5 separate regions of the Homo sapiens genome follow, and all the other regions are linked to region 1. Evidence: promoter capture Hi-C in 16 types of primary human blood cells and fetal thymus (Javierre and others, 2016). All regions are on one chromosome and are shown on one strand. Each heading gives the region's core, a stretch centred on a gene start or on the middle of the fragment in contact. The rest is flanking DNA. Distances are from core to core; before and after follow the strand shown.

Region 1 (4,681 bases), core at 1,381-3,880:
AAAATGATTTTTTCCCATAATCCTCTATCTTTCTTACCACTTCTGCCCACCCAAAAGATCTCTTAGTATTCTCTTCCTTTACTGCTTCTGCTATTATTTTTTTACCTATATAAAATAAGAGAGATGAAGCAGAAAGTATTCCTTTATGTGGCAAAATCGCCCTGAATGTAATTTGGGGAAATTCATCCTTAAGGAGCACTGAATGAGCTGTGTGGTTTCATGTTTAAAATAGTGCATCCAGCTGGGCATGGTGGCTCTCGTCTGTAATCCCAGCACTTTGGGAGACTGAAGCAGGCAGATTACCTGAGGTCAGAAGTCCTAGACCAGCCTGGCCAACAGGGTGAAACCCTGTCTCTACTACAAATACAAAATTTGCCGGGCGTGGTGGTGCGGGCCTGTAATCCCAGCTACTGGGAGGCTGAGACAGGAGAATCGCATGAACCTGGGAGGCGGAGGTTGCAGTGAGCCGAGATCACACCACTGCATTCCAGCATGGGCGAAAGAGCGAGATTCCATCGCAAAAAATAATAATAATAAAATAAAAGTGTATCCATAATATTATGAACAATATCCCTTCCTGTATTCGTTTGCTAGGGCAGCCATAACAAAGTACTACAGACTGGATGTTTTAAACAACAGAAATTTATATTTATATCCTCACCGTTCTGGAGACTAGAAGTCAAAACTCAAGGTGTCAGCAGGGTTGATTTCTTCTGAGACCTCTCTCCTGACTTGTAGATGGCTGCCTTCTGACTGTGTCCTCACATCCTCTTTCCTCTCTGTGTCCTTATCTCCTCTTCAGACACCAGTCATATTGGTAAGAGCCCATCCACAGGACTCCATTTTAGCTTAATTACCTCTTTAAAGGCCCTTTCTCCAAATACAGTCTTATTCTGAGGCACTGGGGGTTAGGACTTCAACATATAGTGGTGAGGAGAGGCTGAATTCAGCCCAGATTTCCTATCTGCCCCGCACAGCTATTAACCTAGTGAAAATGAGAGATTTAGGAAAACACTACACGTGCAGTTACATCCTGTACAATATAAAAGGGTGGCTGTTGGAGTTGTTAAATTAGTCACAGCTTCAACTATTTTAAAATCATTTATGAATTTAAATTGCTTGTATGGGATGATGTATATAGTGGCTACTGTTTCAGAGAGCAAAGCCCTAGAATCAGATGACATCCAGAATGTCATGTTGAAGATCGTATCTGCAAACAAGTAGTTTAAATTTTTAAAAACTTCTCTTAATTCAAAAATTCAAAAAAAATGAGAAAAGTAATCTCACAAGTAGTGGTTAATTATAGAAGATGAGAGGTGTGGAGGTTTTTTTTTTTTGTTTGGGGTGCATAAGCTTAAAATAACATGAAAAGCATGTCAAAAAGAATATGAGAACAGAGTGGACTTGAAATTTAACATATCCTACTGGCATCACTTGTTTATAGAAAAATAAAATGGATCATGTATTTATTTGAGGACTCACTATGCTTTCTTTGATCACATTTTTATAGGTACAGCGTGGTGTTCAAACTTTTAATGTATGGAGAAAAATGAAACGGCTAGAAAAATGGCCCAGTACAGACAATTCTATGCTCAATCCAACTTGAACAGAAACTACAGGATTTGGCCTAAACAAGACTGAAAGGGAAGCCCTTATCAGGAAAGCCATTATCTGAGAAGATAAAATAAAGTAATACTTTGTTTTTAAAGTATTATACAATTCATATCTAATATTTCAACCTCAGCCTTTCAAGTGTTGTCTAACACCAATAATAATATTGCCACCCCTCCCTCAACCGGTTATCTTCTTTTCATATTTCTAGCTACTTAAATCCACCAAGCAAATTCTGGTTTCGCTATTTCTGGATTTAAGTACATTTTCTAATGCACCCAGGCCACACGCAGGAATGGACACAGCTTTCGCTCTCCGCATAAGTTTTCTAGCCCAGGGCAAGCTCTCAGAACGTGACTCCTCGTGCCTCGCTGCCCGCCCCTCGCTCCCCCCACTCCCGCCATCATCCCTTCCGCAGAGTTGGCTGCCAAGCCGACACCCACAGATTCTGCATTCCACGGCTTCCCAGCATCCTGCTGTCTCTGCGTGGAGGAAAGGGTGCTGCGAATCCCAGTTTAGATAAGGAACCCCGTCTTTTCACTACTACACCGAAGCATGCAGGAATAGGGCGTTGACCCCATTCTCCCAGCTCAGGGCACAGGTGCTAAGGCCGACCCATCTCACGGGCCTGTTCACCAGTTTCCCACACTCAGTACAGATCCTAACACGGTTTATGCACTTCATAACCATGCGTTTGTGTTTGTCAACTGACAAACGAGTGATAATGACAAACGAATGACACAAGGGAAACCAACAGCCAATCAGAGCGCAAGGTTGTGTTGCCAGCATCCCAGTTTCAGGGACAGTCACCGCCAAGCCCGACCCTGCAAAGGGTCGTAACCGGACTTCGGGGCAAACTTCAGGTCCCCCGCCTGCTAGCCCGCCAACCCCCTCCGCCAGGCAGCCGGCGCGCCTCCAGGTTCCGCCCAGGCGTCGCTGAGTGGCGGCGGCGGGGAGAATGCGCGCGGCGCAGCCAATCCGGGGGCGTTCCTACACCCCCTGCCCGCCCCCGACCTTCCAGAGCAGAGCAGGACACTGGCGCCGCGGGTCAGGCAGCTGCGTGCGCGTCTCCTCCAGGCAGCAAGGGGAACCCGAGGCCGCCGGCGCCCGGACCATGTCGTCTCCGGGGCCGTCGCAGCCGCCGGCCGAGGACCCGCCCTGGCCCGCGCGCCTCCTGCGTGCGCCTCTGGGGCTGCTGCGGCTGGACCCCAGCGGGGGCGCGCTGCTGCTATGCGGCCTCGTAGCGCTGCTGGGCTGGAGCTGGCTGCGGAGGCGCCGGGCGCGGGGCATCCCGCCCGGGCCCACGCCCTGGCCTCTGGTGGGCAACTTCGGTCACGTGCTGCTGCCTCCCTTCCTCCGGCGGCGGAGCTGGCTGAGCAGCAGGACCAGGGCCGCAGGGATTGATCCCTCGGTCATAGGCCCGCAGGTGCTCCTGGCTCACCTAGCCCGCGTGTACGGCAGCATCTTCAGCTTCTTTATCGGCCACTACCTGGTGGTGGTCCTCAGCGACTTCCACAGCGTGCGCGAGGCGCTGGTGCAGCAGGCCGAGGTCTTCAGCGACCGCCCGCGGGTGCCGCTCATCTCCATCGTGACCAAGGAGAAGGGTGAGCGGGAGGTCGTGGGCTGTGGGTACGCGGATGCCGCGGATGAGTCTCCAGGTGCGTGGGGGCTGCAGTTCCTGTGCCCCTTCCGGCCGCCCGCGCCCCCAGGCTGCCTCACACCTGCATCCTGAACTAACAGGTGATGGTGGTGGCGGCGCTTCTCCTTTCTGATGCCTTTAAGATCCCATCAAGTAGTGACGGACGCGTGACTTGCTCATACTCCAAGATCATAAGTAGAAAAGTCATCCGGAGATTGAGGGAGAGTAATAGGGATGGCGGAAGGACAAGGTGGCAAGCCAGGTTCCATCTTTCCAAAAGTAGCCTTCCCTTCCACCAGCTGTGACCTCGGAGAGAAACTTTGGCCCCCATGTTAGAAAGAGGGAAGGATATTCTTTTTACCTTGTGGGTTTCGAATGTAAGAATTTAAGAAGATAATTTCCAATAAGATAAAAAGTCCAGAAAACACAGAAGAAGCCTATTACCAAATCTCCGGCTTTGGTTCATAGCCTCTGATTCCTGCGTATGGGAGTCTAAATTGGACATTTTTGGGGGTTGGAAAACGTGTTATCTGCTGCAATAAAATGTCCAATCTAACCTGTCTCTACCGTCCCCCTTTGTCTTACTGGCTGGCTTAGGTCTCTGACTTCTTTTCTGAGTCACTCCTACGCATCAGTCAGGTGTTAAATGCCTTTTCCTTGGGGAAGCCTTTTCTCACAGCCTCTGCAAGTAGGGTAGCCTCCCTTGTTAGAACCAGGTCCCTTGCCCAAGCACTTTTCCTTCACTACACTTTTCAAAACTGACGCTACATAACTTTATGACCTTGGGCCTGGATGTCAGTCTTCACCACTGTTCTGACATCTAGGAGGACAGAGTCATTGCTGTCTGAAACATAGTAGGAGTTCAAGTATCTATTAAATGAATGCTATTTCCTGCCCCTATAACATGGCAAAGAAAGATCTAGGCTTTTCAGAATCTGATAAAGCCAGAGTTTTGCATCAGGATTTTAAACGGAAAAGACAAATATTGTATGATCCACTTATATGAGGTGCCTCCTAGCGTAGTGAAATTCATAGGGACAGAAAGTCTCAGTTTTGCAAGATGAAAAAAGTTCTATGGATGGATGGTAGCAATGGTTGCACAACAGTGTGACAGTACCTAATGCCATTAAGGTGTGCACTTAAAAATGGTTAAGATGGTAAATTTTATATGTATTTCACCACAATTTTTAAAAAAGAAAAGAAAAGCAGGTAGGTTTTCTCCAGGCACCCATGAGCTCAGAAGAGAATTTTAGGTAGAAGCAGTATTACGAAGGCATGTAGTGGATGAGGTGTGAACTGTGACATTTGTTTTTCAGTGGGGCATTTAAAGTATTATGATCTTTATCCCTACTCATTTAAAATCCTTAGATAATGTCTTAGTGTTCATCCATGTTGTGGCATATGTGAAAATTTTCTTTTGAAGACTAATAT
Region 2 (4,681 bases), core at 865-3,364, 200 kb before region 1:
GAGGCGGGCTAATCACGAGGTCAGGAGATCGAGACGATCTGAAGGGGGCCTGCCCCTCCACACCTGTGAGAATTTCTCGTAAGGTGGAGATGAGAGACTGAGAAAAGAAATAAGACACAGAGACAAAGAATAGAGAAAGAACAGTGGGCCCAGGGGACAGGCACACTCAGCATGTGAGGACCTGCACCGGTGCCAGTCTCCAAGTTCCTGTAGTATTTATTGATTACTATTTTCACTATCTCAGCAAGGGGAGTGCAGCAGAACAGGGTGAACAGGATGATGGTGGGGAGAAGGTCAGCAGGAAAACATGTGAGTAAAGGAATCTGCATTATAAATAAGTTCAAGGGAAGGTACTATACCTCGATGTGCATGTAGGCTAGATTTATGTTTCTCTTTACCCAAACATCTCAGTGTAGCAAAGAGTAACAGAGCAGTATTGCTGCCAGCATATCTTGCCTCCAGCCACAGGGCAGTTTTCTCCTATCTCAGAATAGAATGAATGGTCGGCTTTACACCAAGACATTTCATTCCCAGGGACATGTGGGAAACAGAGGCCCTCCTCTTATCTCAACTGCAAAGGGCCTTCCTCTTTTACCAATCCTCCTCAGCACAGACCCTTTACGGGTGTCAGGCTGGGGGGGATGGTAATGTCTTTCCCTTCCCACGAGGCCATATCTCAGGCTGTGTCAGTGGAGGGAAACCTTGGACAATACCCAGGCTTTCTTGGGCAGAGGTTCCTGTGGCTTTCCACAGTGCATTGTGTCCCTGGTTAATAGAGAATGGAGAACGGCAATGACTTTTACCAAGCATACTGCCTGCAAACATATTGTTAACAAGGCACATCCTGCACAGCCCTAAATCCCTTAAACTTTGACTCAATACAGCACATGTTTCTGTGAGCACAGTGTTGGGGCTAAAGTTACAGGTTAACAGCATCTCAAAGCAGAACAATTTTTCTTTGTACAGATCAGAATGGAGTTTCTTATGTCTTCGTTTTTCTACATAGACACAGTAACAGTCTGATCTCTCTTTCTTTTCCTCACACCATCCTGGCTAATATGGTGAAACCCCATCTCTACTAAAAAATACAAAAAAATTAGCCGGGCATGGTGGCAGGCACCTGTAGTCCCAGCTACTTGGGAGGCTGAGGCAGGAGAATGGCGTGAACCCGGGAGGCAGAGCTTGCCGTGAGCCGAGATGGCACCACTGTACTCCAGCCTGAGAAGTGAGACTCCATCTCAAAAAATAAATAAATAAAAATAAATAAATAAATTAGAGAACTCAAACAGTTATTTTCCAGTGTAGCGCACCTCCCCATCGGTCACACTTTCAACCTCACCTCTAGGGGTCCGCTGGGACTTCAGTCTATTTACAGATCTAGAGGCAAACAGAGGTGTTGGGGGTGGCTTCTGAGAAAAACCATCATTATCTTGACTGGCAACTGCCTCAGGGGAAGCCATCGCTGTTGCCTCAGGCAGTGCAGGATTTATCTCCTCAGACAAAGGTGAAAAGGCTGATGGCAGCATGGGTCAGGGAGGGGATGTTGCCACTACTGGAGATGGGGAAGCTGTTTCTTCTGGCAAAAAAGGTTAATCAGAGTTTACAAACTCAGTGTCCCAGCTTCATCAGGCCCCCCCCCCCACCCGCCCCAACACACATCCCCATTCCAAGTTGCAGGGTTCCATTCTTTTCCAATCAATGCCCTCACTTTAACAGTAGGCACCTGGCGAAGCTCTGCATGCATCTTTCATTGCAGGTCAGCCACTCGCATGATAAGAGTTTGTGTCTGTTTTTCCACAATTATAGCAGTTTCTCTGCAGGAGATAAGAATCTCACTTAGGGCAATCTTAGCAGACTTGAGGCTCAGTATCTTCTTCTGAAGCTGGGAGACAAAATCCCTGAGTGTATCATTTTGTTTTATCACTTTGTCCACTGGACTTAGGAGCAACCAACTAGCTTCATTATGCTCCTTGGTTCTCCACATATGGTCAAGGGTATTCTGTATAGTCACTAAACTCCTTGCCTCTCACGAGCGGTGAATCAGGAGTGTCAAATGTATTTATTTGGCGTAACTCTCTAAACAGTTTCTGCCAAGGACTATCGGTGTTCTCCATATTATTAGAAGTAGAGTCCTTAGCATTTTTTGGTCTAATCATATTAAGAAGACAACTCCAGAAACCCCAAAACCAATGAAAGAACTCCATCCTTAATATTCTATTCCTCTAGAACCACTCCTGGTACCAAAATCTGTATTAGTCAGGGTTCTCTTAGAGGGACAGAATTAATAGGAGATATATATACATATTTTTTTTTACTTAAACTCATAGATATATAGATATATATATAAATGAGTTATTAAGTATTAACTTACACAATCACAAGGTCCCACAATCACAAGGTCCTCAGCTGTCTGCAAGCTGAGGAACAAGGAGAGCCAGTCTGAGTCCCAAAACTGAACAACTTGGAGTCTGATATTCAAGACCAGGAAGCATCCAGCATGGGAGAAAGATGTAGGCTGGGAGGCTAGGCCCATCTTGCCTCTTCACGTTTTTCTGCCTGCTTTATATTCACTGGCAGCTGACTAGATGGTGCCCACTCGATTAAGGGTAGATCTGCCTTCCCCCCAGCCTACTGACTCAAATGTTAATCTCCTTGGGCAACAACCTTATAGACACACCCATGATCAATATTGCATCCTTCAATGCAATCACATTGACTCTCAGTATTAACCGTCACATCCTCAATGGCTGCAAATATCATGAAAATAAAGAACACCATAACTTTTTGCCTCCTGATGAAAATCATGAAAAAGTCAAATCAAATCTGGTTCTAATCAAGTCTTCAGGACAATTTATAGGTTTGCAGTTAATGCAGAGGAAAGAGGAAGAGGTGAAAACACCACAAATGCAATTAGTCAAACCCAAACTCTGGAAAACTACAACATTAATGACCTGAGTTTTCAGTAATTCAAAGATAGGAAAAAATAAATGAGGAAAAACTAAAGAATAAAATAAGATATAAAATAAAAATGGAGCAATTAAAATATTTGAAACATATTTGAACACTGATCCAAACAAAAGAAATTTTTTAAAAATTTATGAGACTATATGGGAAATTTGAAGAGTTTCTGAACTCGATATAAAAGACTTACTTTTTTGGTGTGATAAATAGCAGTGTTATTATATTTTTTAAATAAGTCAGTTAAGAGTATATTAGTCCATTTTCCCACTGCTAGAAAGAAATACCCAAGACTGGGTAATTTATAAAGGAAAGAGGTTTAATTGACTCACAGTTTCACATGGCTGGGGAGGCCTCAGGAAAGTTACAATCATGATGGAAGGGGAAGCAAGCACATCTTACATGGAGGTAGAAGAGCAAACAACAGGAAAAACTGCCACTTATAAAACCACCAGATCTTGTCAGAACTCACTCGCTATCATGAGAACAGCATGGGGAAAACTACTACCATGATCCAATCACCTCCTTCCCTCCACGTCAAGATTACAATTCAAGATGAGATTTGGGTAGGGACACAGAGCCAAAACATATTAGTGAGATATATGCTGAAAGATTTATCAGTGAAATGGCAAAGCCATAAATATTCAGGAACCAAAATTGGTTTCCTGAATATGGTAGCAGGAATGGGGGAAAATGGTTGATACATCTTTCAGAATGCAGAGCAAAAATCCCAAGAGATGGGAAATACAGCATAATTTTTTAGAAAAGAAAGAAAAGAACAGTCCAGGAAATCTAACATCCAAGTATTAGAAGTTCTACGAAGAAAAAAAAAAAAAACAGAGAAAACGCACAGAAGGAAATAACCATGGCAATTATTTAATGAAATTTCCTAGAACTGAAATGCCTCCCTGAATGCCTAACTCAACAGATAAAATCAAGCACGGAAAAAGCATAAAGCATAGCACCATGAAGTTTCAGAATACTGTTATACAATAGTTCGAAATTGTTTGGAAACCCTGCAAGCCTCTAAAGAGAAGAAGAGTTCATGAACAAAGAGTCAGGAATAAAAATGAATTAGAAGTTGTCAAGAAAAAGACTGCAAGTTAGAAGACAAATGGACCAATACCTTCAGAGCTCTGAAAGTATTTTCAGTTAGAAATTGGAATTGCTATATACGCTTTCTCAAGGAAATACTGGAGGATATGTTCTGTGGCAGGCCAATTCTCCCTGACAATCACACAGACAAGCCTGCATAGCACTTCAGTTACACAGACTAATTTCCACAGAGCTGCCTTAACATTGAGCAAATAGTTAAGCCTAGGGAAATCAGTGCCCAGACATCAGAGATAGAAGTGAAACATATGGTCAGTAGGAGCCTTCCATGGTCTTCTCCCTAACCTGGAGCAAACCAAAATAATAGAGACAGTCTTACATTCCCAGTGCCAGGACCCATATCTGAGACAAGTCAAGGTAACAGAGGCAGCTGTTTGAACAGATTCATTGGAGAGTCTAAGGCAGCTCTCCAGACAAGCTGTAAAGGACATAAGATAGAAATAATCACTCTGGTACCACAGTAGGCAGGCCTTGAAGGTACTGGGGCCCTTTTAATCAGACTTTTGCCTCTGACCTTCTAGTTGAAACAAAATTAGTTACCAATAGACTTAGGCAAATGCTATACTGCATGTAGGCACATAACTCCAACCTATATAAGCACCAAGAAAGT
Region 3 (4,681 bases), core at 1,342-3,841, 180 kb before region 1:
CTGCTTCATTTTTCTACAAATCTAAAATTGCCCCAAAAAAGACTATTTTTTTAAAAAAGAATCCTGGCAGCCCAATGCAAATATGCTTCTGTCTCATGTTAAATCCTCAAATGCTCAACATCCACTGAACCTTTTCAAACAACAACAGCTGGCAAATTCTGTTTACCTCTGGCATCTCAACTTCGTTAATGCCGCCTTACCAGTGATTGACATGGTGTTATATCAGTATTCTATTGCTTCTTCTCACTTCTGTGGACTTAAAATGAATTATCTGGGTGATATTACCTGCTCCCTCTTTCTAATAAATATCCTAGAGAGTGGTTGCATTTTGACTTCACCGTATACTCAGACTAGGGAGCATGCCAGCAGAACCTATCTCCTGGTTTTCCATTGTTCCCTAGATAGCTCTGTTTTGGTAATTAGTTAACATTGGCACAGTTCCAGCTTCATGGGTGTCCATGTGCTCTCTCTTTCCACTCATTGCCTCCTTCTTCTATTTAAGTTAATTAAATAATTACTTTTCTCATTATTTTCCGATAGTCATCCAGGGGAAATAACATGCTCAAAACTATAATTTTCAGCATATATTTCAGAGATCCTTTAAAGAAACATTCTCACCTAGAGCAATTTTTATTTTCTGCAGCTATTGACAAAAGCATTTCCTCCAGCAGTTGAAAAAGCTGCCTAACCAGCTGGTTTACCAGCATGACTTGTAGTTGGGTTTCCCAATAGAAGTCCCCACTGGGCTTGCACATTGGTGAAGGGACATGTAGTAGTGGCACTTCTCCCCGAGCTAAACAACTGAAGGAGTGTTTTCTCACTCTGAACAAGAGTGCATATACTCTTTTCCTGATGTTACGTACAGTTAGACTCTTTCCCATAATAAGAAATTGAGACAGGTTGTGTCAGTTAATGGAGTTTTATTCTAAAGATGGAGGGAAGAAAAGGGGAAAGGAGGTGTTTTCAGCAGCCACACAACCAGAAAATAGGCAGAGCACCCTAGGACTGCATATAATGGAAACTCAGTTACTCTTAGCTTCTGCTGCTATTTGTCTTACCCCTACCAACTAATTGACTGATTTTCTCAAATTCAAACTACTCAAAAGAGAAGATATAATTTGATCTGCCTATCACAATCCAATTTAAGCTACTCATGTTTTCTCCTTCTCCTCCTCATCCTCTTTCTTTCTCCATCCCTTTTGCTCAGCCTTCCTATAACCTCTAGTCCTTTTCTCTTTGGGGGCTCCAAAACACTGAGTAGGTCACAGTATCCTGAGTTTTTGTGATGTAGAGTCCTCAAAAACCCACACATTAATTTCAAGCAAGCCACTCAGAAACCCAGATGTTGCAATACTATTTGATAATGGTGAGAATCTTCCCCCTTTTAGAAAGATTTTGTGCTAGGCTTCCTTATCATTGCTGGCTGAGCTACGAATGGCTGCCTTTGGGTCAGGTGCTCAGTTGGGTCTTGTCACCTGGGACCAGGAGATGGGATCATGTCATTTAAAGTGCAACAACCAATTCACTAGGAAACACCCAGATAGAAGCCATGGGTCAGGAAGAAAATGAATCACATACTACTCTTTTCCATAATAGACCAGTGTTCCCAAAGTTCCTTCAGTGGAAACACCACTTCATTGGGAATGCAGTGTGCATTTTGTGAAAAAGGATCTTCTGATAAATTTCATTCCACAAATATTTATGAATGATTACTAAGTTCCAGGCACAGTTCTATACTCTTAAATATCTGAGGAACGCTGTGTTACACAAATTAAACAGATTTTTATGCTGCAAAACTCTTACCACTTTTAACATGCCAGTGAGCCCAAGTGAAGGGCTATAGATTGTACTATCTCTCAAATTTATAATACGAGTGCTCTTTTTCTGAAAAACATTTCTTAAGCCTCATATTACACAAAACATACATCTTGAGAGACACTTAAGTATACAGTTGAAGATCCAGGAAATCACACTGTCAAAGGACACATGTATTGTAGCTAGTCTCCACAGTTACCCCCTACCCCTGATGAACCACATATCCTGGTATTCATACTCCTATGTAGTCCTCACCTACTTTGAATCCAGGCTGAACTTGTGACGACTTACTTAGCCAACAGAATGCGGTAGAAGTGACTGTATGCCAGTTCCAGACTCAAGCTTCACAGCCTCTTAAGAAGTGTGGCTACCTTGCTGGAAAAACTGCATGAAGAGGCCACATGGAGAAAAAGAGGTTCTCAGACTATTTGGAAAAGACCAAGGAACCCACCCTGCAGGAAGAACCGAAGTCCCAGATATATGACCCTGTTGAGCATTAGCCAGATGCCATCATTCATGCCATCCTAGATGAAGTGACAGACATGGGAGTAAAGAAGCCTTCTTGGATGTCCCAGTCCCAGTAGCTATCAAGCAAATCCAAGATGAGCCCTCTCTGTATGTCCAAGCCAAATGCCCAATGCACAAAATTGTGTGAGATGATAAAATGCTTGTTGTTTTAAGCCACTAAGTTTTGAAGTAGTTTATTAGGCAGCAATAGTTAAAAAAATATTAACTATTCTGGAAAAATTACTACATAAACAATGTATTGCACCAAGATTACATTTATAAACACATATGTCTATTTCAGAAATGACCCATTTTAGAGGAAATACTTTAAATATCATTTATTTATAGAGACTTAAATAATTTCATGGTTTATTATAATAATTTTCATTCATTTACTTTTGTACCTCTTTATCAGTAAAAATTAAAAATCAAATAAAAGTTATAAAATATTTAATCACAGAGAAACCAATTTAATTGTACATATTTCTTGCAGTAAACAAATTAAAATGCTTGCATACAATAAGAAACTAAGAAAAAATTGGATTGAACTTGAGACACGCATTTGTTTATAAGAGGCTAATCTAATTAAAAGCACATCTGTTTGTTTATGCTGCAAGAAATCTCAATAGCAATTAGGAAATTATAAATTCCTAACATAAAAACTAGCCCTAATTTTAGTCAGAGGACACCATCCTGTTATTTATAAGCTTGGGGGTACTAATTATTTACCGTGCAGAAGGTAAAATGCACTAGTGAAACACAGTACTCCTTCTCCTTCTCCTCCTCCTCTTCCTCCTCTTCTCTTCTCCTTCTCCTCCTCATCCTCTTCCTTTCTCCTTCTCTTTTGCTCAACCTTCCCATAACTTCTAGTCCTTTTCTCCTTCGATGTCCAAAATACCGAGTAGGTTATAATATCCTGCGTTTTTGTGATGCAGAGTCCTGAAAAAAAACCCACACATTCATTTCAAGCAAGCCACTCAGAAGCCCAGATGTTGCATTACTATGTTATAATGGTGAGAATCTTCCCCATTTTAGAACTCACCCTTTTCTAGGCTGAGCAGCCTAGTAGCATAAGATGCACAGGATCCTAAATCACAGTTCTTCTGTCCTTACATTAAAGCTGCATTCTTCTTGGTTAACATTACTAGGCATGACTTTCTGATATTTACACAAATTATTTCATACAGATGTTTTAGTATATGCAAATGACTAAGCAGAGTTGTTTAATAAGAATTTAAATATTTAAGACTAAGTTTTCATTTTGGAATTACAGTAACACATTTCAAGAGAATACAAAAAGATGCACTAAATAACATTATGTCCAATAAAGCACAAAGTTAATAATGTTGTTTAAGGAAAAACTGGAAGAAAGAGGGCATTTTTTTCCTATTTCTTTCAACCAAGTGTTTGGAGGCTATCATAGGGTTGTCTACTTTGTTTTGTGTTTCTTTTTAACATGTTGGCTTCAATTCTTCAGTTTTGACCTTTTGATCTGTCTTTCATCTGACAATTCCAGGACAAATGCTGGAGTATAACACATATTTAATGGAAGTATTATAATTCAGGCAGACTGGCATCTCTCTGGTTCCTATAAGAATTTATTTCTATCAAGCAACAGTAGTACTCTATGTTACCTCATTGGTTAGCATACAGTGCCTAGTGTTAACTTTCCTTTACCTTCTAATCATAAATTAGATTCTACTATGCTAATCTTAAGAGCAACCGTTGTATTAAAGGAAACAGATCACTATAATTCAATCTAAATTTACTTAGAAGTAATTATTTCATTAAAGGTACTATACCTGAATAGATCAAGAAACTGCTCTCTAGTTGTGTTTCTGCATAAATAATAAACTGACTGAGACATGAAAGAGTACCCTGAAGAAACTATAGATATGAGTACGGTGACTCACTGGTTTGAAGAACAGAAAGTTTCTCTGTGATGCTCCACAATGTTTTCCTTTCTTCTAGTTTTTTTTACGTTAACTTTGTGATTTGTTGGACATAATGTGTGTATACAATCTGCCCTCTGCAAACTGGAAAGTTACAAAAGCCCTTGGTGTAAATATTTAGCCTTAATCCAAAGGCTTGGGAACTGGGAGAGCTGACAGTGAAACTCCCAATCAAGTTTGAAAGCCTGAAAACCAGGATAGACCATTAGTGTAAGTTCTGAGTCTGGAGGCCCAATAACTGGAAGCTCTGATGTCCAAAGGCAGGACAAGATGAATCCACTAGCTCAAGAAGAGAGAGTGAGGACAGGCACAGTGGCTCACATCTGTAATTCCAGCACTTTGGGAGGCCAAGGTGGGAGGGTTGCTTGAGGCCAGGAGTTCAAGACCAATATAGCAAGACCTCGAGC
Region 4 (4,681 bases), core at 1,621-4,120, 170 kb before region 1:
ACACTATTTAGGGGAAGTCAAAGATATAAAGTGAGCTGATAATTTAGTAGGTTAACTAGAGACTGTGCATGGAAGAATGCCTAACAGAATAACAGTTTTCCAGTACAGAATACGTGAATTCATTTCTAATTTATACATGAAATAAAAAAATTCTTTTTAAATTTTGTATTTCCATAGGTTTCTGGAAAACAGGTGGTATTTGGTTACATGAGTAAGTTCTTCAGTGGTGATTTGTGGGATTTCAGTGCACCCATCACCTGAGCAGTATACACTGAACCTAATTTGTAGTCTTTTATCCCTCACCTCTCTCCCACACTTTCCCCCAAATCCCCAAAGTCCATCGTATCATTCTTATGCCTTTGTATCCTGGTAGCTTAGCTCTCACTTATGAGTGAGAACATACGAGGTTTGTTTTCCATTCCTGAGTTACTTCACTTAGAATGATAGTCTCCAGTTCCATCCAGGTTGTTGTAAATGCCATTAATTCATTCCTTTTTATGGCTGAGTAGTATTCCATGGTATATACATATACACCACAATTTCCTTATCCAATCATTAATTGATGGGTGTTTGGGCTGGTTCCATATTTTTGCAATTGCAGTGTGGAGATTCCTTAAAAAAAACTAAAAGTAGAATTACCATTTGATCCAGGAATCTCACTACTGTGTGTCTACCCAGAGAAAAAGAAGTCATTATACAAAAAATCATTCTTACATGATATATGTACAACTAGCTTGTACAACTTCCCGTATAGTTTGCCAGTTTTTATGTACCAACATCCCTAAACAAATTTTAAAAACTCAATTAAATATATATTGAGCAGCCAGTTTGTTCAAGGACAGCTTCACTATAAGGTATATAATAAAAGAACTGTTATAAGTCAATGATTGAGTGAAATTTTAATTTTTCAGTGTCAACTCTTTTATAGGAATGAGCATATACACACAGCTAACTTAAGCCCACCATGCATGAAACTGAACTCAAAAAGTATGAAAAGTAGAGCAAATTTAATGATGTTTATACATCACTAAGAGTCAATTCAGTGAAAAAATTAAATAACATCAATTGTTTGGTATCCAAAACTTGAAACTTTTTCTATGTAAACAGTATATAGAGACAATCTATCTCTCTAAAATAATAGAAATATTGCCAAAGTACTATACTATACTAGTTGTTGGTATGTGGGAAATTCTTTTGGTTACTTGTTTCTGTGTTTAATTTTGTGAATATTAATTATTTATATTTTACATCAACTATTTATCATTATCTTATTTTTATATCAATATGGTACTTTTCTTTAGAGACAAGGTCTCACTATGTCACCCAGTCTGGGGTTGAGTGGCGCAATCATAGCTCACTGTAACCTTCAACTCCTGGTTTCAAGCAATCCTCTCACCTCAGCCTCCCAAGTAGCTAGGCTACAGGTATGGGTCATTATGCCCAGCTAATTTTTTATTTTTATTTTTTGTAAAGACAGAGTCTTGTTACATTGCCCAGGCTGGTCTCAAACGCCTGGCCTCAAGCAATCCTTTGGCCCTGATCTTCCAAAATGTTGGGATTATAGGCGTGAGCCAATGTACCCAGCCCAACATGAACATATTAATTAACACAATATTATCTATCCTTTCTCCTTTCCTTGCTTCCTGTACTAAATGCAGACAACGTCAGAGATGAAGGCAGATATTCAAGTGGAGGATTTTAAAAGAAATTCACTATAAAATTCTGGGAGTTACAGGTACAAGAACTAGTAAGCTAACTATTGTCTTGTTTTTACTCTGACAGCTTTGCTACAGTCACTGTGTTCTACACAAATAGAACGATATGGAGAAGTTATGACAACTAAAGTGAATTTCCTGAGAAATGTAATTTTGGAGAAATTGAAGGATTTAGGAAGAGATGATACTCACAGAGACATAGCAATGTTGCATTTGAACTGATGTAACAAACTGATTATGAAGAGGCATAGTGGAAGAAAGGGATATTCAGGGGAACAATAAAAAGTCATCTGTGACCAACTAAAAATCCCATGTTCAAAATAGCTCAAAGAATCAAAATGCTACTCTTATTTTAATCACTATGTTTTGAAATAAAAGATAATGTCTTAATTCATTACTTATATTTCTGCCAAAATTATCTTTGAAAAAAATTTCTTAATAGAAAGAAAAAGAAAAGAAAAAGATAATGCCACAGGATTATTTAAATAGAAATGGAGATTTCTGGTTTGACCTGGTGAATTGAATAGATGTATCACTTCTATTCTCTCCTGAATGCCTATTAATATGACAATAATAATATTTAAAATATATAGGCCTAAAAGAATCAAAATTACAGGAGAGAAGACACAGGGGGTCAGGAAACATCAGTGTATTTTGGAGGATGGAAAGCTTGATTACTCAGGGGAATAGAGGAAGCTGAACCTGTTTCTTTAGAAGGAGGAAACAGAACCAAGCTGCAAAGGCTCAAGAATTGGGTTTTGCAGAAAGGGAGTACAAAGCCCAGGTCTGGAATTAAGAGAATCATTGGAAATTCTGTGTAAGAGGTGGTTAGACCCTGAAAAGCCTCAACATCCCCTTCCAAATTCTCAGACTTGAGATTTATTCCTTACAGAACATGAATCACAAAGAATTTAGGCTTACAGACAATGGGAACAGAAAGATTCAAGAGGAGATATGGGACTGAAAATAGGTGGATTAGGTGGAATCTATATATTTACCAGAGAAACACACCCCCAATCCCTGCCAGCCCTCATTCCCTGTCCCCAAATACTCGCAGCCAGACACACACACATCCCAGGGACAAGACTTTGAGAAACTTTCAAGACAGAAACTGAATGACCCCTGAGAATATGCTACAGATTCAAAGCCATTTTCAGGCATGTAAATTCTCAAATAGGGAGAAAATCAGTAAAGAAGAAGCTAGGATTCTGGAAACATGGGCTTCCACAGAGAAGACAGCTGAGGAGATTTCCCAGGAAAATATCAAAAGAAAGTGCCAGAGTAACGAAGCATAAAATGGAACTACAAGGCAACCAGTCAAGATTGGAGCAGGAGAGTAAAGATTTCTGGAAATAAATTCAAAATGGCACTCAGATTATCTGACAAGCATTGGAATATGTGAAATCGCATTTAGAAGACAAGTGAATGAATAATTGACAAAATTATTGGCTCCAGGGGAAAGGAAAGGAAACATAATTATGTCACACTACTAGTTTCAGCAATGAAACTAGTAGTAGAAATTATACACACATAACTAGTAGTAGGAACTAGTAGTAGAAATTATACACACATAATTTTATATACAAAGCATTCTACTATTTACCCTGTATGTTATAAACATTTTCACATTTAAAACTTCCTTTAAGCTTAATATTTTAGTATTTATGCAATAATGTATCTATTAATATCATATAACTAATCTATTATAGCACCATAATTATTTCATTTGTGTCTCTATTATTAGTCATTTAAATTTCTTTTTACTTGTTTTAGTAGGTTCGGGCAAATAGGCACTTTTATGCACTGGGAATACTTAAATTCCCTGACCTGGCGAATTTACTTCTAGAATCTATCCTTGAGAAGCAATTATAGAAGTGTGTAAATTATATATGTCATGTCGCTCTTTGCTGAATTATCAAATAGGAGAAATTGGCAATGATCTAAATTACCAACAATAGGGTAATTACCAAATAAATTTTGATTTACTACATAACACAGTATATGGTCATTTAAAACATGAGTTAGATCTGTTTGGGCTGCCTTGGAGAATAATCCATGACAAATTGATGAATGATGGGATGGGAATGGAAATATAAGTCTTTGGTAAATTAATAGAGCTCATTTTTTGTGGGAAAAATACTATATGTGTGTATTTATAATAAATATATACACAGATGTTTGTACAGACATAAAAATACATCTAGAAAAATATATAATAAACTCTTGATAATGGTTATCCTTAGGAAGTAAGATTAGGCTGGGCAGGAGAGAAACTTTTATTTTGTATTTTTCAGCATTATTTGAATTACCACAAGCATATATTACTTTGATTATTTTTGAAAAACATAGATAAATACAGACAATCTAAATAGAACTTATGAGGTAATTACATCTTCAAAGATGGTCCACCCTAGTAGCTTTTTAAAATTGCTCCTGATCAAACAGGAGACTCGCCAGTCCCATCAGTCCTCCTTATTTAAAGGGAAATGAAGAGAGCCCAATTTTCTCTGGAGTTGAACGCGTTCTGGATTACCAGTATTTTAATTAGGCAAATGAAAGTCAGCTTTCTATTTTGATATGTTATCACTCCAAGGGAGAGACTGAACCAGGTCAATCAAATAATGTTTTCTGGGACTGAACAAGATCAATCAAAAACTTTGGGCCTTCTCAGTTTTGCCCTTCTCAGAGTCCTTAAGGGTTTCACAAATAGGCAGAAGTCTCTATGAATACTCAAAATCATCTAGAATTGTCAACTTCAGACTTTCTTTTTCCAACTCTTTTAGCTTATAGAAATTAGAGTGCAAAAGTGCATAATCAAATTTCTGATTATTAATACTTTTAGCTGAATTTTAGTTTAGAAAAATATGGACCAGGTTAAATGAAAGTATGCCACAGGGTTTCTCAGTTTTAGTACTATTGACATTTTGAGCAGGATAATTCTTTGTTGTAGTGGGTTGTCCCTAAAC
Region 5 (4,681 bases), core at 1,459-3,958, 130 kb before region 1:
CCCTGAGACCATTGAAGTAAGAAGCAATATCCATTTTTCTCTCTTCTTTGAGTTTAGAAAACAAAACAGACTTACTCTTTGCCACGATTCCTGCCATCTGGCTCCCAACCAGCCTCCAGAACCTGCCATTTTCCCATGAACATATTATTTCCTCCTGCTCTTTCATTTGTTCTATATGAAAAAGTTGTCCAGAGTAGCACAAGGAGCAAGCTGTTTAGTTTAATAAGCAGCCAATTAGCCAGAGTTTCTTCCCCTTCGATCTCCCAAAGCAGGTCACGTGGTGGGTTATTGCTAGCTTTTCAGATTTATCTAATACTTGCATTTTCTTCTGTGAATTTATTAGATCAGTCCTGAGCCACAGGTGACCCAGAAATCTGGTGGCTTATAGGAAGTAGAATGTAACAAAAGTGTCATTCTTGTGTCCTGAAATTCACTATGTATGTGAACTCCACATTTGAGCAGGGCATGGAATCAATTTGCAATTATTTACTAACAATGGCCCAAAGAGTCATCCTGTCCCCCTGAGCCTAGGAAAAGCCTATTTAAGTGACTTCTCAGGAGGTTCCCTGAAGATGTTCAGGCACTCAGCACCAAGCACCACCCTCTGGATGCTTCCACTTAGAGATCTAGGGAGAAATCGGGCTTTGTCCATCAAAACTGTGTGGAGAGTTCTAGTTAGTGAAGAAGAATGATCAGCATAATGTCACCTGTCTGCATATAGATCATTAGCCTGGACATTTTTGTTTCTGGGTTTGAAGCAATCACCATACATGAATCATGTTACTTTCAAGACTATGATAATTCTGGCAGATTATAAAACAGCAAAATAAATAAATAAGAAGAAAGACTGTGATAACTGTGTAGAACAGAAAACTCTTCAAAAGCTTCTTTGGCAAGAATAGTATTCATTCATTTAACTAAAAACTTACCTACAAAGTGAGAGACAGCAAACTAGCCAATAAAGATGAGCATAGACAGGTTCCTGTCCTGGAGGGACTTACAATCTAAGGAGTAAGAAGAGGTCAAAGGAAGGGGGATTATTTCGAATTTATTAAGTGCTGTGGAAGAACGTATACAAACTACTCTGACAGTAAAGAGGTAAGCGAAATCTGCTCTAATTTATACAATGGAGGCTGTGTAGCTCAGCGGTTAAGAATGCAAACTCTGGAGACAGATGCCCCAACCCCACAGCCCAGTATCTAAGCCTCACAGGGTGTGAGAACTCAAGGACTAAATGAGTTAATACAAGCACTTGGTGAACACTTACCAGTTGTTAGCTCCTCTCCCCAAATGAAGCTATCAGGCTTGTTCTATCCATTGCTATTTAAAATGATCTTTGCCCCATGTGTAACTCCATTTTTTTCTCATTATTGAATATTAATTTCACTCTCCGGAGTTTTTGCTAAAAATATAAATAAAAATTGTTGTTGCGCATTAGCTGTTAAAAGCTGTTTCCAAGACCAATGAGTGTGTTGGCAACAACAACAACAAAATCAGGCTTGGAAGGACATAGGTCCCAAAAACATAGCCAATTCGAGGTGGCCACTAGTGCAACATGAAAGAGTATTCAAGTCTCCCAGTGTCTAGGAAACGAGTTTTTTCAGTACAAACAGGTATACTGTTGAGCCCCAGGATAGAAGAAGGGACTCCAACTGACAAATTTTAAGGTATGGCCACAGGCAGTTCCAAATACCTATTTAATCCCAAAGCTATCTTTGGGTTATGTTTTGGGGATGGGGGTGAGGAATTCTGTCCCTACCTCTTCATTTTTCATAGGGAAAGAGAGAAATTTCTAAACTCCAGCCCTTGGAGGAAAGGACTAGAAACACTTCTGGACTCTCCTGACCCCTCCCCATCTCCTTCCCAAGAAAGGGGGAATGATATCTCTGATTGGTGACATAGGAAAGAAGAAATAGCATTGGTCTTTGGTCACTTTTCTCTCTCTTTTAGAGGGCCTGATCTCAGAATGCTATAGGCTGAATTGTGTTCCCCTACGAAACAGATGTTAAATTCCCAACCCCCCAATGCCTTAGAATGTGACCTTATTTGGAAATAGGGTCTTTAATGAGGTAATCATGTTAAAATGAGGTTATTAGTGTGGTCCCTAATTCAATATGATGGGTTTCCTTATAAAATGAGGAAATCTGGACAGAGACAGACGCAAGAAGAGGGAAGGTAAAGTCAAGAGGCAGGCAGAATACCATGTGACAATGAAGGCAGAGATTAGAGTTAATGCCACCACAAGCCAAGGCATGTGTGGGGCTACCAGAAGCTGGAAGAGGCAAGGAAGGATTCTTCCCCCGTAGGCTTCAGAGGGAGCATGGTCCCCACTGACATCTTAATTTCAGACTTGTAGTCTCCAGCGCTGTGAGACCATATATTTCTGTTCTGAGCTCTAGCCAACTGGTACACAAAACACTTTCTCCACTCACCCTGCCGTAGACTGCCTTCCCCTACAAAGAAACCTGCATGTTCATCCTGTTCAGTGACTAAAAGTGTTGAATTGAATAGATGTGAAGTGGGTATGGCCAGGAAGGGGGTCCCCTTTTCTCAACAGATTTCATTGGTAGCAAAGCGAATCATTTGATGTGTATCTTAAGTCTCAGTCGTTCCTGAATTTGGAGTGGGGAGAGAGTCCTGATTTTCTAGCCTAAACCCCAAATCTAGGCTGAGGCACATACTTTACACGTATTAATGCATGTAATCTTCATAATAAGCCTACAAGAATATGTCCTATTATTATGCCCATTTTATAGGTAAGAGAGTTTAGGCATGAAGAGGTCACATACCTTTCCCAAGGACAATGAATGCTGAGGACTGAACTGCAGGCAGCCTGGGGCCAGAGTCTACATCCTTGCCCACTAAGGGGTGCTGCCTCCCCAAGGGCTACATTCCAAGGAATAAGTCATCAAATGGTTCTATTAAATGGGAGTCTAAGGGTAATCACTGTGGTCCTCCCTATGTACATGTTAATAAGTTTGTATGCCTTTTCTCCAATTAAAAAATAATAATAAAAGGAAAGGGATTCTGTGGTCAAATTTATCAAGAGAACCCTGGGTGAAAAGAAGTGTTTTCTTTAATCTCTTCTAATCTTCTCAGAGTCCTTACAATGCCAACATGTCTTGTGACTGTTAATCAGGATATGGAGCACAGCGTTTGACCACAGAGCACTTTTCAGGGAGCACTTCTTGGGACTAGTGTTCTGAAGAACACCAATTTGGGTCTGAGAGAATATTTTGAGTGGGAGGTACTCTTTCATTTGGATATAGTTCTAGAATCTTTTATAATTTCTATAAGCCAATCAAAATGCTCAGAAATCCCTTAGTTTAAATTTTACAAAGCGTTTAATAGGGCTTAGAGGGAAGGCCGGGCATTGAGATCCACACGCTGAAGCGGACACATGTCCCAGCCACAGAAATAGAAGACACTGGAATGACTGTAACACCAGAACACAGCCTACCTACCTGCGGAAGGTAAGGCACAGCCTCACAGGAAGATGGGATGATTTCAAAGAGGAGTTGGACTTGAGCAGGCCTTGAAGGATGAGTGGGACTTCAGGCAATCATTTTGGATTAACTACCTTAGGACAAAATCTCTCTGTTCCAGGATGGAGTCAGACATCCTGCTGACTCTTGAGATCTGTTTTGATCCCACAGTTTGGACAGAGAAATTTTCCTACAGCTAAGAAAAGATCATAAATTGGTAGCCTTTAGGAAGGATGTGACCAGCAGATCCTTGTTTGGACAACACGATGTGGCTGGTGTGTGTGTGTATACGTATGTGTATGTGTACGTGTAGGTTTAATTTCATGTATATACTCTTGGGACTCACCATCTCTCCCATTTTACTGTCCAGTAAATGTCCAGTCCCGGAAGTTATCTGAGCTCCCCTTTCTAGGCTGATGTAATCACATGCACAACTAAAAGATGAGGTGCCTTTACGCCCCTGTCAACATTTCGGTATGACTGACAGTATCATGGGAAACATCAGAGAGGAAGGTTCTTCCCAACCCTTTTCAGCGTATATGTTTTGTTACTTACCAGAACCTGCCTCCAAAATGAATTCCCACTGTAGAGCAGTGGTATATATATTTGCACTAGTCCTGCCTATTCAGTATTCAACTTCAGTACTTTATATAATGGGTTATATTACATTAAACTAGATAGATCTATCATCCTCTTAAATGTGGTGGGGAAAAGGAGAAGCACAGGATGCCAAGTAATTTAAAATATAATCTTTAAAAATCATTAGATAATGATCTGCAGGCCAGCTAAGTCATTTTCCTAAGGAGATTTTTGTCTTGAAATCTTTTACAGTTTTGGTTGTTCTATAGCAGGATGGTTGCTTCACCAATGTTCAGAAAGTAAACATTATATGCTTATAACATATTGTTATGGTTATAGGCACTTGAGTGCAATAAAATACATCCCTACCCACAATACTCTCAGTAGAAGCGTCACCCCAAGAACTACTCTATGCCTGCTTATATTAATAATTACAGTCACAGGAGGACTGGACAATGATGTCAACAGAAAAGCTTTTTTGAGCTCATTTTTTCCTTTGCTCCTCAAGAGGGGCAGAGATAATCATTTCACTTCCCCAATCAAATTCGGTTCTCACTTTCAGCGACGCTGCAAATGGAATTGACTTTTTTCTTTCACCTTTGCACCGGCATTTTCCT

What was found. The method cuts DNA at HindIII sites, captures the fragments that hold promoters and counts their contacts. A CHiCAGO score of 5 or more calls a contact.
Region 2: a contact is called between a fragment that was not itself captured here and the fragment with the promoter of CYP2U1 in region 1, in 1 of 17 cell types (monocytes). The highest score is 7.0, in monocytes.
Region 3: a contact is called between a fragment that was not itself captured here and the fragment with the promoter of CYP2U1 in region 1, in 2 of 17 cell types (monocytes and M0 macrophages). The highest score is 6.7, in monocytes.
Region 4: a fragment that was not itself captured here is called in contact with the fragment with the promoter of CYP2U1 in region 1 in 4 of 17 cell types (M1 macrophages, monocytes, M2 macrophages and 1 more); the score reaches 5.9 in M1 macrophages.
Region 5: a contact is called between a fragment that was not itself captured here and the fragment with the promoter of CYP2U1 in region 1, in 1 of 17 cell types (monocytes). The highest score is 6.4, in monocytes.

The regions. Positions count from the first base shown.
Region 1 is chr4:107,928,919-107,933,599 of GRCh38, forward strand. It overlaps CYP2U1 (cytochrome P450 family 2 subfamily U member 1), which reads left to right and starts at 2,631. Exons shown (of 5, transcript NM_183075.3): 1 at 2,631-3,215. The coding sequence starts at 2,726. It overlaps CYP2U1-AS1 (CYP2U1 and SGMS2 antisense RNA 1), which reads right to left and starts at 3,201. Exons shown (of 7, transcript NR_125929.1): 1 at 3,053-3,201. The region is part of intron 1 of LOC107986298 (a long non-coding RNA gene); the gene reads right to left. It overlaps LOC124900751 (a long non-coding RNA gene), which reads right to left and starts at 2,667. Exons shown (of 2, transcript XR_007058221.1): 1 at 2,055-2,667; 2 at 1-985. RefSeq lists enhancers at 2,001-2,508, 3,169-3,238, 3,299-3,368 and a silencer at 2,369-2,958. The HindIII fragment of the contact is 6,450 bases long and covers 1,352-4,681 here.
Region 2 is chr4:107,728,660-107,733,340 of GRCh38, forward strand. No RefSeq gene overlaps it. Among named protein-coding and RNA genes, the nearest start is that of PAPSS1, 11 kb to the left of the region's middle. The HindIII fragment of the contact is 8,704 bases long and covers 1-4,681 here.
Region 3 is chr4:107,747,556-107,752,236 of GRCh38, forward strand. No RefSeq gene overlaps it. Among named protein-coding and RNA genes, the nearest start is that of PAPSS1, 30 kb to the left of the region's middle. The HindIII fragment of the contact is 872 bases long and covers 2,156-3,027 here.
Region 4 is chr4:107,763,671-107,768,351 of GRCh38, forward strand. No RefSeq gene overlaps it. Among named protein-coding and RNA genes, the nearest start is that of PAPSS1, 46 kb to the left of the region's middle. The HindIII fragment of the contact is 977 bases long and covers 2,383-3,359 here.
Region 5 is chr4:107,795,373-107,800,053 of GRCh38, forward strand. No RefSeq gene overlaps it. Among named protein-coding and RNA genes, the nearest start is that of SGMS2, 27 kb to the right of the region's middle. The HindIII fragment of the contact is 3,653 bases long and covers 883-4,535 here.